Linked DNA regions of Homo sapiens: region 2 is linked to region 1. Evidence: promoter capture Hi-C in 16 types of primary human blood cells and fetal thymus (Javierre and others, 2016). All regions are on one chromosome and are shown on one strand. Each heading gives the region's core, a stretch centred on a gene start or on the middle of the fragment in contact. The rest is flanking DNA. Distances are from core to core; before and after follow the strand shown. Region 1 holds the start of FAM53B (family with sequence similarity 53 member B). Region 2 holds the start of HMX2 (H6 family homeobox 2).

Region 1 (7,374 bases), core at 4,701-7,200:
CTCTAGCTTCTAGAAGTTCAGAGCACAGGGGCCCCAGCACGCTCCTACAAACTCTTCAGGGGCAGAAAGGACAGCATGCCTGGCCAGGCAGGCCTTGCTAGAGATGGGTCTCCTTATTCTTCCTTCAAAACACACGCACACTCACACCCCCCCGAGAAGCAACCTGCAAAGAACCATCTGTCTGAGACAGAATGCAGGGCCGCTGCCCAGCCCTGGCTGGGGCGTACCAAGTTCAGTCACACTGGAGGATATACAATTGTGTTCAGTTACTTGATTACTTTAGGCACGTAAACAAAATATGATATTGTACAGACCTGGAGTGGCAACCACCACATCATAATTTACTTTGAGACATCTGAATTACAAATGCAAAAAGAAAAAAAAGTTGGAAACACTTTTAAGAATCTCTCTGAATGGAAAATGGAATCTGAATAAATGGTGGTGTTTCCAGTGGGCTGCCAGGTTTACTTCCTGTTTCCCCCAGAAGGTCACTGGAAATGTTTTCTTGTGAATCTGCCTTTTCTGAGATTGAAGCAAAACATCTCAGCCTCCCAAACTATGGCACTCACTGCCTTTGGTCCTACAGTACATACAGATTCCAATCACTCCAAAAAACAAAAAAAAAAAAACAAAAAACAAAAAAACACACAGCCATAGCAGAGGGGAGAGGAGGGGAAAAGGCAGTTAAAAGTTCTAGGTTTCTCTGTGGTGTTAACAAGACTAAACAAAATTTCTGCTTTGAGATAAAACAGAACCCAGTGCCTCTATCATATGAACACACAGCAGGGCATATGGAAAGCAACCAGGCTCTGAAGGAATAGAGCTCCTTCCTGGCTTTCTGCCTTCCGGCTATGTGGCCTTGGGCCAGTTACTTGGCCTCTCTGAGCCTCAGCTGTAACTGCAGGTTTGCTTTGAGAATTAGAGAGTGTATACAAAGCCCAGGGCCCAGGGTGGGCCTTCAACAACCAGTGGGTGCTGCCATTATTCTTTGAACAATCTGCACCCATTTCAGCTAAATCCTTGGGAATCATATTATACTAGCGCAGGGGAAGAATCTGTTTCTTTGTTTAACAAGAGAACAAAAAGAGTGAGTGGAGAAGTCAGGAGTTAGCCTGCCACTGCGTTCTGAGGTCAAATGGGCTGTTTACGAACATGATTTGCTTTCACCCTCCTGAGACTGGCACCGTGAAAAAAGTCCTTCCCGAGACTTACAGATGCCCAAGAGGCAATGTGGTCTCCATGATAGTCCAGCGTGGTCTGGCCAAGCTGTCCCCCATCCCCCATGCAAAAGCCAGCTTCCCCGTGCAGCCCCCACAGCAGGAGAGACGGAGAACCATTAAAGCGGGGGTGCCTGTCACACTCCTCTGTAACCCCTGACGTGATGTGAAATTCTACAAGGTAGACCCTTTGAAATGCAAAATCTTCCAGAGTCCTTCAAACGTGTTTTTATTTTCTCGGGTTCCTAAGGCTGCTTTCAGATCCACCCATCAGCATTTCCCCCTCTCAATCAACCCACATTTAACAAAAAAACAAACAAACAAAAAAAACGACAAGAAAAACCCAAGGACGTCTCTATTTTTCAGAAAAGCTCAAGTATCTCCAATCACTGTGAGGGGAAAGAAAATAAAATCTTCAGCTCCAGCCTCCTCGCATCACTCCAAGACACCCAGAAGCCAAGTTTCCTCTGGAAGATTTCCTCCCATCCTAGCCAGCACAGCACTCTGTTGCTCAGGATCTCAGAGAACTTTCTTAGATAAGAATCCGAGTTCTCCCTGACCTAAGTTCGGTGAGGTTAAGACAGGCACCACCAAAACCACAACCCGCAATACACGAAGCCCAAATCTTGCCCCAAAACGCTGTGCACAGGAGGTTTGGATTAAGCATCAAAGAAGTTACCTTAAAACAAAGTTGTTTGGCAAAGAAAAATACTTCACTGTAAGAAGAACCCTAGGGAACGGTAAATTGCTTTTGAATATGGACTTTTCAGTGGCGCAGTCATTAATCATGTTAATGTAAACTGCGCTACAACAAAAATTTTCTAAGCAAGTCTCAGGGTACATCAGCATATCTAAGCCTCTGGGTTTGTTTCCAAAGTTCACATCCAGGCAGGCAATGAAACTGCTGTTAATGGGGTCAGCTATTACAGTGCCGTCCCCAACCTTGAGCCATAATAAAGGTGACTCAGCCATCCAGAAAAAACCCTCAAACTTAGGCAGGAAACAAACAAATTAATCAGAGAAAGAGAGTCAATGATTTTTGGAAAGTGTATCCGTTGGACAAGTTTAAACAGAAACTCTCCCTGGATGATCAGACTGACATTTCAGAAAGGAGTTGAGGGAGAACAATCAACACTCCTCCCAGCACCCAAGTCCCCTGGCCAGACCCTGTTTTGTGGCGTGGAGGGGAGGGTAGCAGCCGGACGAGGCAAGGAGGAGGAGAGTCCAGCAGAGCTAAGCTTCGCTGAGCCCCGCCAGCTCCGGCCATGTGCTTTGTGTTGGCAACGAACCGGTTCTTTCAAAAGAGGAAGAGTCTGACAAAAAGGACAGCTGCAGCAAAGCAGAAGCTGAGGGTAAAAACCTCTCCAAAGCCCTGAGCTCGGGATTCTCCCCTAAAGTTAAATCAAAACACCACTGGGGTTTGCAAGGACTAGTTCATCTATTAGTCTTCCCCTTGCTGGATCAATTAAAGAGAGTCCCTCCACATCTGGTTTCCATCGAAAACCGAAACTTGTATTATCAGCATATTACATAACAAATTATGCCTGCAGGTTTCTTTTATTACACATCAGAGAGGTGTGCGTGGTGGTGGTAATGATGGGGGTTGTGCCGATCTGAGTATTTGCTTATTTCAGTCTTTTTATTTAAGGACAAGAACAGAAGAGTTTTCCATACAATGCGCAATTTAACTGCAGAAAGTCACGCTGCCCAAATAAAACATCAACTGAACAATCTGAAGGTGGGCCCAGAACTCAGTCTTCAGGGCCCAAGGCATCGAGCGGTGGGTGAGAAGAGTGTGCTTTTTAAAAGAGCTCCGCAGCGTCCCCTGCTGCCAGCTCCTAATATTTAAACACAGCTCTCTCCTCTCTGGCCTCCAAAAGGGGAGGAGAGCAGGCTGGCCCTTCCTGAGCTTCAATCAAGGGTCAGGCGCCTGCTCACTGGACCCGCTTAAAGGAACCCAAGCCCACTAGGCTTCTGTAGAGAGGATGGAGAGGCTAGCGGGGCAGTGAGAGAATATATAAGGGGAAAGAGAAAGACTAAAAGATGGAAACAGAAAGAGCCCAGGAAATAATACCAGGACTTCCCATAAAATGTCAATTAAGCGTAACCACCACGGTGACAATAAGGTATCATAAAGCTCTTTCCAAAAGAACTTTGCGTACTTTCAAAATGCTATGTGCAACATACCCCACGTTGAAAAGAGAAGAGGGAAACTGATTTAAAACATTATGAACCAAGACAGTGGAATGCTCTCTACTTTGTCCTGAGAAGACTGGAACATTCAAGTCCACTTCTGCAGCAGTGAGGTTGCTAGTTTCTATTTAAAAACTTGTCTTTGATATCAAAATGACTGCACATGAATCTCACCTTCTCAGAAGAAAATAGGAAGTCGTTGGGCAACATTATTTGAATTTAAATCGCCTCGTTCTCTGAAGGAACGTTTGGAAGAAAAAAATACAGGCCTTCCCCACGCCTCTCCTTAGCTTTTTAACCTGAAAAAGCGCCTGGAAGCTGGATCGGCAGACTCCCAGGTCGCATGATGGGTGACAGCCAAGTGCAGACACAGAGTCAAGGGCTACCAATCCTGAGCCAAACCTTCTCCCACTGAATGGGACTATCAACTGGGACAAGTAGCTGTTTCTGTAGTCCACAGCTAGAGGCGGGGGAGGGGACCCTGTAGACCTGCAATTCAATATCAAAACTGTAACTGACACAAGTTACTCTTAAATAGATAAATTAAAATGAAACAAAAACCTGGCCTAATAAGGAACAGTGAGTTTCACCTGGTCGGCTGACTCCATTCCTTCCCAAGTCCTCAAACCAGGTGGCATCTTTTAAACGAGTCCAGGATCTGGAGCAAGGAGGAATCTCCCTGCCAGCCGGTGGGGACTGCTGGGAACACATATGCTAGCATGTCATTTGGAAGTCTGCTAATATGTTGTAAGCAGCACAAGACGCTTGCCTGGCTTCCCAGGCCAATAAACAATGCCATTCCAACTCCTGCAGCAGTCAATAGGAAACAGTCCCTTTTCTCCACCATCCAACAATTGAACAAACATTTGTTCCTGTTGAACAACCGTCAGCCTGGCTCCATCTGCACCCGCTCCTGCAAGGCGAGCGCGGCGGCGAAGGCGACGGCACAAATGCCCACCCCAGGATCCCAGACCCGGAATGCAAGCCATTCCGGGGGCCACTTTCCTAACACCACCGAGTCCGGAGATTGTACCGTATGGAAGACTCGGAGTGTGGCCTATAGGAGGCAGAATCCCATTCATCAAACGCTGCAAAGAGCTTTTCTTTGTTCACCATCGTCCTAAGTACAGTACGTGTTAATGAGCCCGGGCGGTCAGATGGAAGGAGCTCGGCTTCAGGGGGCGTCCGAACGCGAGGGACCCGGGCAAACCTGTCCGCGCGGTTCGTCGCTGCTGCGGCGCCCCGGCCCGTACTACAAGCATTGTTCCCCAAGTCCGAAAATGGGGGTGGAGAGCTGGGGGCTGGGGGACAAGGTGGGGGGGCGGGGGGAGCGAGAACACACTTGGGACAACACAAACCGCAAACCCTCCCCGGATTCTGGGTGTCCTCGTTTCTTTCGTCTCTGCCCCAAGAGAAACCCTGAGCGGGGAACCTGACTCCCACGGGCTTGCAAAATCCAAGACTAGCAAAAATGTGACTCGACCAGTGTGCCTGTGCCGGACGGCCCTTCTCGCCATGTGCAAAAGCCACGCCGGCGCGGACGCCCCCACTCCGCAAGCCCCAGCGGTGGCCTCCCCGCGGGCTTCCCCCGCCCGGGACAGAATGCCCCCTCACCCCCATCCTGACCGCCCCGGACAGTCCAGCAGCAGCGGAGCCCGCCGCCTCGCTCCCGCACCCCGGGGGTGGCGGGTGCAAACTTCCGCGAACAAAAGAGTTGTCTGCAAACGATGCGGGAACTTCGGGGCGAATGGGGCCGCCCGGCTCCCGAGACTCCGCGCCTCCTCCGCAGCGGCTAGTCAGGGCTCAAGTTGAGACGCGGAGAGGACACCCCCGGGCGCAGCAGTCCCCGCGCCCGCCCGCCCTGGCCTGGGGAGCGCAGACTTTTCCGCCGCAGCCAGGCTTGTTCTTCCCCATGCCTGTGCTCTGACAAGTCTCACGCCTGCATCAGGGGCGAGACCGAGCGCCCGGAGAAACCGCCCGACCCAACCCAAAGGCGAAACAAGGCAGAAAAAAAGGAAACCAGCAACATTAGGAAAAAAGAAAAAAAAAAGGCAAGCCCATTGCGCACGCGAGCCGGGCTCCCTCCAGCCAGCGGCCGGGACGCACACGGCCCGGACCTCGCTCGGGGCCAGCCCCCCGGCCACCGCCGCCGCCGCCCGGCCCCGGGTCGCTTACTGTGCGCGGCGGGGCGCTCCGGGCGCGGACCCCGCGCCGTCACCGCCAGCGCTCGCCAAGTCGTCCGGGGTGCCCGCCGCGCGTCCGCCGCGCGCACGCTCGCCTGCCGGCGCCGAGCGCTTTGTACGAGCGACTCCCGGGGAGGAGGAAATCGACTTGTCACTTCCTGAAGTGTTTGCAACTCGTCCCTTTAACCGGCACCGGCCAGGCCGCCCGCACCCGCCGCCGCCGCGGAGCCGCCAGACCGCGGCTGCGTGAACTCGGCCCGGCGCTTAGCGGGCGGTGTCGCGGGCCCGGGCGCTAGGCGCGGCGGCGGCGTGCAGGAGGCAGGCGGCGTGCGGCGGCGGCGGCAGGCGAGTGTGCAGTGCGCGCAGCCGCCGATGGGCGGGGAGTGAGGGACTCGCGGCGCGCCGCCGGCGGGGCTAGAGGGCGTCCTGCGGGCTCAGCCGCGCGCCGCTCGCCGCGCTCGCGCCTGCGAGGCCCCGGGACGCGGGAAGTGGCCCCGGGCCTGGGCCGCGCCACCGCGGCTGCCCGGGCCCCGCGCCAGAGGCCCTACGGGCTTCTCTCCCCGCCCCCAGCACGAGCCGGGATGAAAACGCTGGGCCGCATAGGCTTCAGGCGTCCAGCTTCCGGGTTGTTAGATGCCGAGGTTCAAAAGAAACGATCACTTCAGTGGCGTGCAGGACAGCGGGCGGGTGGGGTCGGGGAGGGGGGACCTTAAAGTGTTGTCACACTTTGGGAAAATAAAGCGCAAATTTCCTAACTCGGGGCGCTGTGACTGTGTACTTCAGAAGCCACATCCAAAATACATGCAACTGGCGAAGGAAGGATTTGTGGTTGCTAAGCAGAGGCAGAGCATGTTTAGTTCTGTAACTTAGGATGTTGACTTAAGTTCAGGAATGTAACCCTGATAGAATAAGCAGAGTATTTTCATTGTGCTGCTCACCTGGGGGAGGGGGATTGTTTTCCTTGTGAAGCCCTAGATTTCCCATTACTCCTTCCTACTGGTGTATGTTATTTTATTGACCTTGTATCCAAAAAGCGATTTTTAAAGAGAAGTTTTTTTAAAACTCCCTATGCCTGTTTTGTGTTCTCCTTTGCCAAAAAAACAAAACACCTCATTACTTTACATGGATTGTGTCTGCGCCATTTGAATGGTTCTATTCATAAATAAGGAAACTTTTTCTGTTGCTTCTAGGAACATTTAATTGGTTTTAATCCAATGTTTCAATCCCAGTATCAAACATAAATGAACAATTAACTTCTTGAGCTTTGTGTGCTTGGGAAACTATTATATTTCATGGCTATTGCTGAAATATTTCAGAATATCATCACACCGGACCCATTCTTTTCAGAAAAGCATGAACTGACATCTCCTTTCACACTACAGCTCGCTCCACTGAGTTCTGCTGCATGATTAGAATGGACAGCAATCAGTGGAAAGGATATGAGTCTATTCATTTCAAGTTACATGATGTGGGATAGAGTCAGTTCATCCTAGAAAGCCAAAATGAGCTAACATACAGAATACAGCATACTAAGATATTGATATCCTTACCCATATACGTTGCTTTTTAAAAATGCATTAAGGACCAATCTTGAAAGGAACAAGATCCAAGAACCGATGGTGAACAAAAGAAGGCCCAAGGAATAATCTAAGAATGCTGCTATGCTTAACGAAAAGAGTCAGTGTTTCCCTAAAGCCATCTGATATCACACAATCACCTCAGCCTTTCAGAGCTTTAAGGACAGAGTTTAATTTACTAACGTTTTATTAGGAAGCCTAGAG
Region 2 (6,552 bases), core at 688-3,187, 1.6 Mb before region 1:
AGCCAGCGAGAGAGCGCGTTGCGCCTATCACTGAGGCAGGAGCGGTGAGGTGGAGTCACCTGCTGTGCCTCACCCAAGCGCTAATGTCTTAAAGAAATATAAAGAATCCCCTTCTTTCGTGAGCTCCTTCACCGCCCTCGCCCCCGTTGGTGATGGAGTGCACGCATCAGATTTTCATCAAAGTTCTATTAAGTGAAACATAGGTTGCAGGGCACCCTTTGATTGAAACAGTTTAAATTTTAATTGTGTTTTTAATTTGACATATAGTTGCAGAAAGGAATGACACTGCGTCGCCAAGGGGCGGTCGATTTTCTTAATTTCTCCCAGAGGAATTGATGAGTCTATCAGGCCACTAGATTGGAAACCCATTAAAGCTCTCTGGTTAGGCTGTTAATTGGAACTTGATGGATGTGGGGGGGTGGGGAGGGGGGTGGAGAGTGTCGGGACTCGGCTATGCTGATCCAATCTTCATGACTTTCTGTTTTCCAATAAATTACACAATTCATTTTCCAGCAGCAGATTACATAAATTGTACACCTCTGGGGCTCTCTTTTTCAAATAGGGAGCCCTTTTCCCCAAAAGCCTATTGTGAGATGTCATTTGCACCAAAGAACGAACAGCAGAGGCCCTTGAACGAAAATCGAAACATAATCAACGTTTATACTTAGAAAATTTATTGAGATCATTTTCTCTGGTATTTCCTTATTTTAAAGTTTGGACGCGCCATATATCATAATCCACTCGCGTGGGGGCGGGGGGGCAGACTGTGTTTAATATTTATCGAAGCTTGATTCCAAGATCAAACTTGTTTATGACTTCATCTGTCATTTCGGAGGGAGCCTTCTTCTATTACCCGGCTCAGCCAGCCTATTTCCCAACTGCCGCAGAGCAGAGAGGATCAATTTTTATTAGGATCCTCGGCAAGTTTGCTCTGGGCCGCTTTAATATTGAGCAGTGGCATAATCTCGGGACCTAAACTTTAAGCGTTCTTTCAGGCTCAGAAAGTTTATCATTCCTTGGAACCTGGTTATGCCTAATTCCTAGGAGAGGGAGACAGGGGGTCGATCCCAAAGATGCAGAGGGGCCATCCTCCAAGGTGTGGGTATTAAACTGAGTAGGATTGGGCGGAGCTATCCCAAGGCTAGGGAGGTGGGCGGGGTGTGGGATAGTACTGAGTTGAAGGATTGCCACTCGTTAGGGGAGAGACATGAGGTGTCTGTGGGTGGTGGTTCCAGGAACTGAGTGTTCCTGGGAGTGAGTTTTGTAGCTACACTGGGCCCAGGAGAGGGCGTCTGGGCCTCCGTGCTCCCGGTGAAGATCCCCATATGCTAGAAAGGGGCGGCAAGGAAGGTTGTTTCTTGTCCCTCCCGTCCTTGCGGTGTGACGGCTATAGGTGCTGGAGGGGCGGGAGGTCCCTCGGGCTATCAATCGAGGGGAGCTCAGGGGAACTGCAGTCAGTCAGGCTGCAGAGCTGGGTCTCCACCACAGCCTTCCTTGCCCCAGCCCCGTGCCCACCACCATCTCTTCCCTGGTAAAGTGCACGCACTAGTAGGAGCTCAGTGAACGTTTGCTGAATGAATGTGTGAGTGTGCGCAGGCGTTTATGCAAGTGCCTTCATGCGAATTAATGCGTCCTTTGCCGGGTGTGGCAGCAGAGGAAGTGCCTCGGTGAAGATCAGACCCTCGAAGCGATTAGAGGGACGGGACAGAGGAAATACAAGGCAAGATGGATCTTTTTGACTTCCCAAACTATCCCTAGGGGAAGGAGAGATAGGGACGCAAGGCTTCATAACTTCCTTGTTTAGAGTCCGCAAGCCAGGCTTCTTGCAAGGGTCGACTCCCCAGTCTCTCACTGTTTCAGGGCCTGGGAGTTGCTTTTCCGAGGCCCACTTCGAGGTCCCCTGATCTGACAGAGATCACTCCTTGGGCTCTTGCCCCACCCATATACCCGCCCCCGCCATCCCGAGTCAGCAGGATCCTCACAGTCTTCCCCGCAGCCATCCTCCAAGCTCAATGCCTGTGTCTGCTCCTCTCTCCCTCCTCCCAAATGTGATGTATTGGCAGTGGAACAACCTTGAGCACGAGTCTTGCTTTGTCTGCCTGGGCTAGTCTCTTGTTTTCTTGAGCCTCAGTTTCCCGGCCTGTACATTGAGTGAATAGATCTGTGTCACTTGTTTGCCATCAGGATTAAAGCGAAGAATGCTGGGGAGCTTCCAGCATGTTCCCCGCACGACATATTTACAGTTCAGGAAGGTTCGACCAACTTTCCCTGCCTGCCCCCAGCTTTCTTCCCCAGCGGGGTGGCTGGCACTGCTCCCCGAGTTAGCTGGCCAGTTCCCCTCGGGGCTGCCTTGACCCTGGCTCCGGAGGCAGCGCCTAGCTCAGGATGTCTGCGAGAAGCGGATGGTTAGTGAGAATCCGACGATTCTTTCGCTGAACCTCCCGCGTACCCCCCAACAGCGCGGGAGCACGCGGGACCCGCTGCGACGTGGCCCAGGAGCCTGCGCCGCCGCGGCGCAGAGGAGAACGCACAAATTGTATTTCAGCGCCAGGTCCTTCCGGGTTAATGAGCTGACACCATGATTAAAGCTGACCATTTGTAATGTGTCTCGACCCTGCCGCTGAGCCCTGAAGAGGTTAATGCGGTGACGGAGGCCGGCACCTGCCCCTCGCTGGCCTCCCGGGCCGCTGCGCGCACCCCCTGGCCCCCGCCCCCTCGCCTGCCCCTGCCCCGGCTGCGCGGCCGACTCCTAATCAATTAGCCCATTAACGAGCCCCTCGAGGAGTTAAGTAGGGAAGAGTTCTGCCACGGGCAGGGCCGCAGTCGGTAACTCACCGCGGCTAATGATATTATAAGCGCTTTACTTAATAACCCGGGCGCGGTGCAGGCGAGGAAGGAACTGCACAGTCATGCAGTGTCTGGACATTTGTGGGGACTGATTCCAGAGTCTCCACTCACCCTTGGCTGCACTTGGGGGGCACCCTAAAGACAGGGCTTCTGGAATCTCTTGGCCAAGAGGTCTAGAGGTCACAGCTTGAGGGGACGGGGTTGCCTGAGCACTTCGGGCCTTGCCTCACTTCAGTTTCCAGGAAGCTTGTGCAGACGACTGTGGCCCCAAACCGCTTTGCTTGGCTGGGCTAATTCTAGCTCGGGTAACAGCTGATCTAGGAATTAAAGGGGCGAGAGCCAGGGCACAGAAGGGGGCTATGAGAACACAGAGGGAATCACTATTTACTGAGCACCACGGTGTGCCAGGCTCGGTGCTGGGTAGTTTGACCTCACAACAGCCTCTGCGAGGGAGGCACTGCTTCCTCCAATTTTAGGAATAAAGAAACCGAGCCTCAGAATTTCCAAATGTCTTCCCCCAAGATCACCCAGCCGAGAATTGAGTCGAGTCTGCTCAATTCTAAAACCGAGTCCTGTCACCAGTTCCTTATCTTCTTCCTGGGAGTAAGGCGTCTATTTCTGCAGCAGTTCGGAAACCTTCAAAATTTACAAAACAAAAACACAGATTCGCTTAAAACACGGGTGGGCCATGGGCTACCCGGCCAGGTTTATGGAGTACCTACTATGCGCTGCTAGTGCTTCGAGGCTTTTAATCCCTACCTGAGGCAATCCGAGAAGTTATTTTCAACTATGAGGGCAGAGAGGCTTTAATCGGCATGAGTTGTGCAAGTTCATGCAGTGTGTAAATAGTTGTGCCGGAATTTGAACCCAGATCTCTTGACTAGAGGTCTTAGGGCTTCCTCCCTCCCCCTAAAGATTCTGTAGGTCCGTAGAACCTGTGACAGGGATGAGGTCTGCAGACGGGGAAGGGGAATGTCTGCTCCCAAGGCTCCTGGCCATGCTGGAGAGGATGAGCGTCCGCCTGGAGACGCCTGCTCCTAACCCACCTCACCCCCACGCAGGGCGCCACGGTCCCAGGAGTGCCGGCTTTGCCCGCCCACTGGGGCTAGAAGGGGTGGAGGGCTGGGGGAGGATGGTGGAGCAGCCTGTACAAGCCCCTGGGAGGCGCGGAGACCCGTCGCCTGCGGAGGCGTCGAGCCACTCCAGCTCCGAGTCCCGCACCGCCCCTGCCTCTGGAGAGAAGGGTCCAAGGGGTCCAAGGAGTCGGAGTTGCCGCAGCCGCCAGGAACCCGGGCTAGAATCTGCAGCTGCTTTCAGCCCTGGCTGCCCCTGGTTAGACGCCGCTGATGCCCGCCAGGCCCTCGGCGCGCTCTGGGGGCGCACCGGTGCTGTGTGCCTGGCCGGAGCGTTTTGAAATTTTCCGGGGCCGCTCGGCGGCGCTGCGATTGGCCGCGTTCGGGTAACCTCTATGCAAATGAGGCCGCGCCGCCTCCGCGCCGCCGGAGACCCGGCGAGTTGGCGGGCGAGGAAGGGGCATTTGCACCGGGGCTGGGCGGGCGCACCCAGAGCCAGGCGGGCAGGAACCCCTGCGCAGCCATCCGGTGCCTGCATGTCCCTGGCGCGGAAGGGACGCCTCACCAGCCTCGGCGCCCCCTCCCCCTAGATTTCCTCCCCGCCCCTCCCCACTGCCTGCCTGCTGCACCACCTTCCACCCAGATCACCCAGATCGTCTCTAAAGGGAGTTCTTGGTTTCCTTCGATTTCTTATGAACCCAGGATGGGCAGCAAAGAAGATGCGGGCAAGGGGTGTCCGGCGGCCGGTGGCGTCTCCAGCTTCACCATCCAGTCCATCCTGGGCGGGGGCCCCTCGGAGGCACCGCGGGAGCCCGTCGGCTGGCCAGCCAGGAAGCGCAGCCTGTCCGTGTCCTCGGAGGAGGAGGAGCCGGACGACGGCTGGAAGGCGCCCGCCTGCTTCTGCCCAGACCAGCACGGCCCTAAGGAGCAGGGCCCCAAGCACCATCCCCCCATCCCTTTTCCTTGCCTGGGTAAGGATCGCACGTCGCCAGTGTGGCAGCGAGCGAGCGCGAGGGGAGGGAGGCTGAGCGCCCCGCCAAGACTCCCGCGCCGGGCCCCCTCTGGCCAGAGCTGCGGCAGCCGGGGGTTCGGGACCGCGGGGAGAGGGGCGCGCACTGTGGTGCCTCCTCCGCCCGGTGGGCCCCTGGGAGCAGGCGAACACAGACCCGTGCCGGCTTGGGCTTCCTGGGGAAGGTTGAGTTGTTGAGAGAGTGGACCACAGCGAGAGGGACACGCGGCCGGCCTTACACCCGGCTGTCCTCAATCACTGCACATCTGGTACTTTCTTTCCGGACACGAGGTGGAGATCTGCAAGTCGGGTCTGGGCAGTCTGTCTCCACCGTAATCTCTTTCTGAGTCTTCTTCCTCACTCGCTCCGTATCTCTGCCTTTCTCTCTCTCTCCTCCTTGGAATGATTAGCACTCCAAGATGATTGACAATGGTGCATTTCAGAGACGGTTCCTCTTTACAACATTTGACGAAGGGGAGTCCTGCGTTAGTCCTTAGCGTGATTTCCAAACAAACGGCCTGTGAAATGATGCCACCCTATAAAGCTCGAGGAACTCTTCCAGCTCAATTACCACCAAGCAAATTCGCCTTTTAAAACCATGCTAATGTTTCCCCCTCCAGACCTCCTCTCCCTGTTGCCCCTGGCCCATTCATAAAGGTGGGAGCACAGAGACCCCATACTCCAAGTAGCTGGGTCCCTCTCTTGTCGCTTTTAAAGGACGGGGTGCTGGGTTTGGGGGGCCAGTGAGAGGGATAAGAGGAGGGGATTGGTAAGGTGGGACCAAGGCTGCAGGCGCTTGCCAACCGCTTGGTCCCAGGGAGAGCTGGCGGTCTCCGAGGCTCCCCAACCAACTCCATGGCCTTTCTGTCTGTTCTCGCTCCTCAGGTACCCCCAAGGGCAGCGGAGGCTCGGGCCCGGGCGGCTTGGAGCGCACGCCTTTCCTCTCTCCTTCGCACTCGGACTTTAAAGAAGAGAAAGAGAGGCTCCTGCCCGCGGGCTCGCCCTCGCCGGGGTCCGAGCGGCCGCGGGACGGCGGCGCTGAGCGGCAGGCCGGCGCGGCCAAGAAGAAGACGCGCACCGTCTTTTCGCGCAGCCAGGTGTACCAGCTCGAGTCCACCTTCGACATGAAGCGCTACCTGAGCAGCTCGGAGCGCGCCTGCCTCGCCTCCAGCCTGCAGCTCACGGAGACCCAGGTAAAGACTTGGTTCCAGAACCGCCGCAACAAGTGGAAGCGGCAGCTCTCGGCTGAGCTGGAGGCGGCCAACATGGCGCACGCGTCGGCGCAGACTCTGGTGAGCATGCCGCTGGTGTTCCGGGACAGTTCGCTGCTGCGCGTGCCGGTGCCGCGCTCGCTCGCCTTTCCCGCGCCGCTCTACTACCCGGGAAGCAACCTCTCGGCCTTACCTCTCTACAACCTATACAACAAGCTCGACTACTGACCGGCCCGCCGCCCCGCGCCGCCCCCAGCTGCCCGCAGAGCCGGGCGCGTACTGTACTGTAAGCAGGGCTCCGGAGCAAGGCGGCGTGTTTCCAGAAATATGAAGAAATACACCATGTGTATTCATTAGCTCTTATTTATGGTCTCTGCCCTACTTTTTGTTTTGATTGTTTCGGGTATTTATT

Evidence for each region. The method cuts DNA at HindIII sites, captures the fragments that hold promoters and counts their contacts. A CHiCAGO score of 5 or more calls a contact.
Region 2: a contact is called between a fragment that was not itself captured here and the fragment with the promoter of FAM53B in region 1, in 1 of 17 cell types (total B cells). The highest score is 5.8, in total B cells.

What each region holds. Positions count from the first base shown.
Region 1 is chr10:124,738,428-124,745,801 of GRCh38, forward strand. It overlaps FAM53B (family with sequence similarity 53 member B), which reads right to left and starts at 5,951. Exons shown (of 5, transcript NM_014661.4): 1 at 5,586-5,951. RefSeq lists an enhancer at 2,833-2,952 and silencers at 4,830-4,909, 5,000-5,209, 5,530-5,689, 5,740-5,849, 5,870-5,919 and 1 more. The HindIII fragment of the contact is 7,750 bases long and covers 2,454-7,374 here.
Region 2 is chr10:123,143,756-123,150,307 of GRCh38, forward strand. HMX2 (H6 family homeobox 2) reads left to right here and starts at 4,381. Exons shown (of 2, transcript NM_005519.2): 1 at 4,381-4,891; 2 at 5,815-6,552. The coding sequence starts at 4,624. The coding sequence ends at 6,368. RefSeq lists silencers at 4,251-4,570, 4,961-5,090, 6,198-6,492. The HindIII fragment of the contact is 2,307 bases long and covers 785-3,091 here.